Regions from separate parts of the Homo sapiens genome. Here region 2 is linked to region 1. Evidence: promoter capture Hi-C in 16 types of primary human blood cells and fetal thymus (Javierre and others, 2016). All regions are on one chromosome and are shown on one strand. The core of a region is centred on a gene start or on the middle of the fragment in contact, and the rest is flanking DNA. Distances in the headings are between cores, read along the strand shown. Region 1 holds the start of RASGEF1A (RasGEF domain family member 1A). Region 2 overlaps ZNF487 (zinc finger protein 487).

Evidence for each region. Contacts are between HindIII fragments. The CHiCAGO score rates a contact against its expected background, and 5 or more counts as called.
Region 2: a contact is called between a fragment that was not itself captured here and the fragment with the promoter of RASGEF1A in region 1, in 2 of 17 cell types (neutrophils and erythroblasts). The highest score is 6.5, in neutrophils.

The regions. Positions count from the first base shown.
Region 1 is chr10:43,265,735-43,268,434 of GRCh38, reverse strand. RASGEF1A (RasGEF domain family member 1A) reads left to right here and starts at 1,370. Exons shown (of 13, transcript NM_145313.4): 1 at 1,370-1,590. RefSeq lists an enhancer at 1,865-2,700. The HindIII fragment of the contact is 10,296 bases long and covers 1-2,700 here.
Region 2 is chr10:43,473,966-43,476,665 of GRCh38, reverse strand. ZNF487 (zinc finger protein 487) reads right to left here. Exons shown (of 4, transcript NM_001355444.3): 2 at 819-945; 3 at 464-559. The coding sequence starts at 852. Among named protein-coding and RNA genes, the nearest start is that of ZNF487, 38 kb to the right of the region's middle. The HindIII fragment of the contact is 1,222 bases long and covers 706-1,927 here.

The sequences.
Region 1 (2,700 bases), core at 121-2,620:
AGAGCATAGTGATTGCACCTGTGAATAGCCACTGCACTCCAGCCTGGGCCACACAGTGACACCTCCCCTTAAAAAATAAAAAAGAATCCCCCACCCTACAAGCTCCCCTCCCCCTCCCTTCGCTGGCTCCCTCTCCCTGCTGGGCCTCTCTGTGGGATCTGCAGCATCTGACACATGAACTATTTATGTGTATTTTTATTCACTGCCTACTTCCCACAAGAATGCAAACTCCAACCAGACAGAGACATTCACAGCCGAATCCCAGTGCCCCATCTTACACCTGGCATACAGGTGTTCAAGACACAAGGACTAAGTGAGTAAGCAAGGTCCTCAGCCTCTTCAAGGGGTGCTGTGGGGCTCCTCCCCATTTTTTCACACAGACCCCTCCACCTGGGGACATCGTCGCCCCAGACCTGTTTCTCACTGGCCCTCGTCTGACTGCCTGCAAGAGTCACTCTGGGCCACCCTGGGGTCAGGCCACAGGGTGTCCGTTCAAGAGAAGGTGACCCTTCAGAGCGACAGGAAGTTCCAGTGGACGCCAGAAGACCTGTGTCCTGCTTTAGTGGTTCTGAAATCTTTCAAGGTGGCTTTGGAGCCTTGCTCTGCCACTTATAGGCTCTGAGACCCTGCAGGGTAACCGCACTCCCTGTGCATCAGTTTACTAACCTGTCCAATGGGAACAAATCCACCACCGACCTTACAGGGCGATTAAGATGGTTAAGGGGAGTGACCCAAGGGGCCAGGACTTGCCCACAGAAGGGCTTTCACCGTCTGATTCCACTGACAAAAATTTTGCCAGCTCTGCGGGAGTCCCCAGAGGGCCTTTTAAATGCGGTGGCCGCATCGCCTCCTAGCTTGTCTGCTGCCTGATCCTTTTTTTTTTTTTTTTTTTTTTTTTTTTGAGACGGAGTCTCACTCTGTTACCCAGGCTGGAGTGCAGTGGCGCGATCTCGGCTCACTGCAAGCTCCACCTCCCGAGTTTACACCATTCTCCTCCCTCAGCCTCCCGAGTAGCTGGGACTACAGGCGCCCGCCACCACGCCCGGCTAATTTTTTTTTTTGTATTTTTAGTAGAGATGGGGTTTCACCGTGTTAGCCGGGATGGTCTCGATCTCCTGACCTCGTGATCCGCCCGTCTCGGCCTCCCAAAGTGCTGGGATTACAGGCGTGATGCCTTATCCTTTTTAAATGAAAGCCTGGCCGCCCTCTCCCGGCGCCCGCCCTGTCCCAGTGCCCTCTGCTCGAGCCCCGTCCCGCGCCCTACCTCCCCCTGCACCTTTGCCCCGCACCCTCCTCCCTCCGCGTCCCGCGCCCGCCCGCTCCCCCGCTCCCCGCGCTCTCGCGCCCGCTCCGTGCCCGCTCGGCGCTCGCTCCGCGCTCGCTCGTTCGCTCGCTCGCTCGCGCTCCCCGGCGCCGGCTGCGGAGGGAGCTGCTCTGCCCGCAGCTGGCGCAGCGCGGGGGCGGCCGCGGGTGGGCGGGTGCCGCGGGCCCGGGCGCCGAGCATGAGCCGCCGCCGGCGCCGGCCGCGCGCTGCTCGGGGCCCGACTGCGGCGCGAGGGCGGCGCGGGAGCGACGCTGGCCCGGACCGAGGTAGGCAGCGGCCGCGGACCCTCAGTGCCTCGGGGCCCCCGCCCGCGCCTGGGGCCGTGCCCTCCGGTCGCCGGCGCGGGCAGGGCGCGGCGTGCGCGGGCCCGGGGTCCCTCCCGGCGCGGCCGTCGTGGGGCCGGGGCGCGGGCTCCGGGCGCGGGGCGGGGGACGCGCGCGGGGAGGGCGGCCGGGATCCCGGCGCGCGGAGTTGCTGAGAACTCCGCCCCGGGCTGGACGGCGCCAGGACCCCCTGCACCCTCCGCCCCTTCAGGGCACCTGGCGGGCCGGGCCGGGCCGGGCCGGGCGTGGCAGGAGCGCACGCGGCGGGCGGGCGTGGGCACTGCGGGCAGGTTCGCTGCCCGGGGCCTGGCGTGGGGGTGGGGGCTGGGGAATCGGAGGAGCTCAGGGCTGCGCAGTTGGAAGTTTCCATTTGCTCTTCTGCATTCTGGGCCCCGCCGTGGTATCTCACGCCCTTGCTGTTTGGCGAGGAATTGGGGCTTGAGCTCTGCATTTGGGGGAGAGGTCCAGGGCCATGCCAGGTGTCTCCCTCTCCCTGCTGGGCAAGGGTCATTTGAAGGACCACGCTCTCTTTGCCCCAGGCCTTGCCGGCCCCAGGAACGGGGCAGGTGCAGCTGGTTCTGGTCCGAGGGTCGGTGAGTGAGAGGTGGGGGCGGGAGTCCCCTGCTGTGTGTGGAGGGACGCGCTGGCAGGTTCCTGTGCCCTGCATTTCTGGCTGCCTCTGGGTGCTGGACCTGGTGGATATTTACAGAGAGGCCGCTGCCTGCCTCTTGGGAGCCACCTGGGGGCAGAGACCTGGTGGTGGCCGGGGCTCCCTCCCTCCCTGCTCAGAGCAGTGAGCTTCTCCCTGGTTCACCCTCCCCACCACTGCCACTCTTCTCCCACTGTCCTGCGCAGGAAGGGCCCCGATGGCCGTCGGCCGCAGGATCCTGAAACACAGGAGTCAGGCTGGGTGCAGGGGAGCCTCCCAGAGGCCTTGGTTCCCTCTGTCCCCCCAGGGTTCTCCCGCCCCCTCCGGATGCAGTCTTGCCAGCCCAGCCTGTCCACCTCGGTGCCCTGGACTCTAAGCGGCTCTAGGGGGCCTCCAGCCGAAAG
Region 2 (2,700 bases), core at 67-2,566, 210 kb before region 1:
ACTGACTTCAAAAAGGCCCTTGCATAAAGCACACACTACATCTCATTCTCTTCTACCAACATAACACAGCCATGGTGTTAGAGCTATATCTCTAACACAGATGGAAATGCCAACATCGTAGCTGCCAAATTAATACATATTGAATAAATACATAATATATGATGAAAAGAAGATAACTGAAATTGATATAGAAGGAAGAGTCAAATGACATTCATTTGACTAAACTGAGAGAGGCAAGGATTAAGTTTTGGAAAAAAACAAAGACCATTTAGCTGTTATCTGCTAGTGTGTAATAACATATACATCTGAGGCAAGCAGGCCAACTCTTCTTAGTCACTTCCAAAGTTCTGGTAACTCTAAAAACATATCTCTGAAAAATTTCAAAGATGTCAATATGTGAAGTATCTCCCTAGGATCAAATTTCTCCCTGGGATTATAGCTTCCTATATATTTATTAACTCACCTAGGTGGCTCTGACTTGGGGACTCTTCCTCTAATATCCACAGCACCTGTCCATGCTCCAACTTGCAAACCACCTCTGGTTTGGTAATGCAATATCCTGTGAATGAAAATGACACAGGACGTGGGCCAGATAGCCTGCGGAGGACAAAGGTGTGCCTGCACAAAAATAGGTCCACTTGAGCATTTCATTACAGAAAACACCACAGATATTCTTTACAGTGCCCAGAAGGGATCAATCAAGCTTCAACTCCTGAGTCTCAAGCCTTTAACTCATATTCATACAAAGAAACCATCTGTAATCAGCAGCTAAAAAGGAAATAAATGTTATTTGAAGCTGCAAATTACATAATCCTTACCCACTGAGAGGAGGAGGCTGTAGTTCTCCAGCATCATGTCTCTGTACGGGGTCCTCTGAGCAGAGTCCAGATGCTGCCACTCCTCCTGGGTGAAGCCCACAGCCACATCACTGAAGGACACTGATCCCTAGAACAGTACATTTGTTTTCATTCTACAGTGATCAGAAGTGGAGAGCATACAACATGTGTGAGATCTAACACCTTGTCATGTTCACTGTTGATAGTTGAAGAGAAAATGCTACATAGGATGCCTACTATTGATATTATACATTGTAGGAAAATGAGAAATCCTGGTATGAGGACTCTGCCGGTATATTAATTTTTTTTTTTTTTCAGACGGGGTCTTGCGCTATCACTCAGGCTAGAGTGCTGTGGCATGATCACAACTCACTGCAACCTTGACCACTGGGGCACAAGCGATTCTGCCACCTCAGCCTCCCAAGTAGCTGGGACAACAGGCACGCACCACCACACCCAGCTAATTGTTTATTTGTAGAGACAAGGTCTCACCATGTTGCCCAGGCTGGTCTTGAACTCCAGGCTCAAGCGATCCTCCTGCCCTGGCCTCCCAAAGTGCTGGGATTACAGATGTGAACCACTAGGCCCGGCCTACTTTCTTAATTCATACAAAAATTATACGAGGTCCTGCTAGTGATAGACGCAGGAGGCAGATAAGGGAGGGTCCCCGGAGAATCTCCAACCAACCCCACAAGTGTTTACATCAGATGCTTTTCTGCAGATAAGGGAATCTGCCCAGGGTCTTGTCTGCACATGCCTGCAACAGACTGGGGACCCACCTGCACACTGGGAGAATGAGGTGGAGGCAGGGGAAGTTTGCGCCTTGTACAGGGGGGAGGAGCCTGGCCTCTTAAGATACTGTGTGGTGGCCTGGTATTCAATCTGTGAGGTGGCAGTCTTTTAGTAGAATTGATATTTTTTAAAAAATTGATTAAAAAAAAAACCTAGGCTGAGTGTGGTGGCTCATGCCTATAATCCCAGCACTTTGGGTGGCCAAGGCAGGCAGATCACTTGAGGTCAGAAGTTCAAGACCAGCCTGGCCAATGTGGTGAAACCCTGTCTCTATTAAAAATACAAAAATTAGTCAAGCTTGGTGGTGCGCACCTGTAATTCCGGCTACTGGGGAGGCTGAGACAGGAGAATCACTTGAACCTGGGAGGTGGAGGTTGCAGTGAGCCAAGATCACGCCACTTCACTCCAGCCTGGGTGACAGAGCTAGACTCTGTCTCAAAAAATAAATAATAAATCATTTTTCCTTTTAGAGGCCAGGTCTTGCTGTTTTGCCCATGCTGGAGTACATTCACAGGCATGATCATTGCACACTACAGCCTCAAATTCCTGGGTTCAAGCAATACTCCTGCCTCAGCCTCCCAAGTACATGGGGCTCCAGGCATGTCACCCAGGCTGTAGTGCAATGGCACGATCTCAGCTCACCGCAACCTCCACCTCCCAGGTTCAAGCAATTCTCCTGCTTCAGCCTCCTGAGTAGCTGGGGTTACAGGGGCGCACCACCACGCCTGGCTCATTTTTGTATTTTTAGTAGAGACAGGGTTTCATCATGTTGGTCAGGCTCATCTCAAACTCCTGACCTCGGCCCACCTCAGCCTCCCAAAGTGCTAGGATTACAGGCTTGAGCCACACCGCACCCAGCCCCTGCTTTTTTTTTTTTGAAACACGGTCTTGTTCTGTCACCCAGGCTGGAATGCAGTGGCACAAACACAGCTCACTGCAGCTTTGACCTCCTGGGCTCAAGCAATCTTCTTACCTCAGCCTCCTGAGTAGCTAGGACTACAGATGCATACCACCATCCCCAGTTAATTTTTTTGCCTTTTCACAGAGACAAGGTTTCACCATGTTGCCCAGG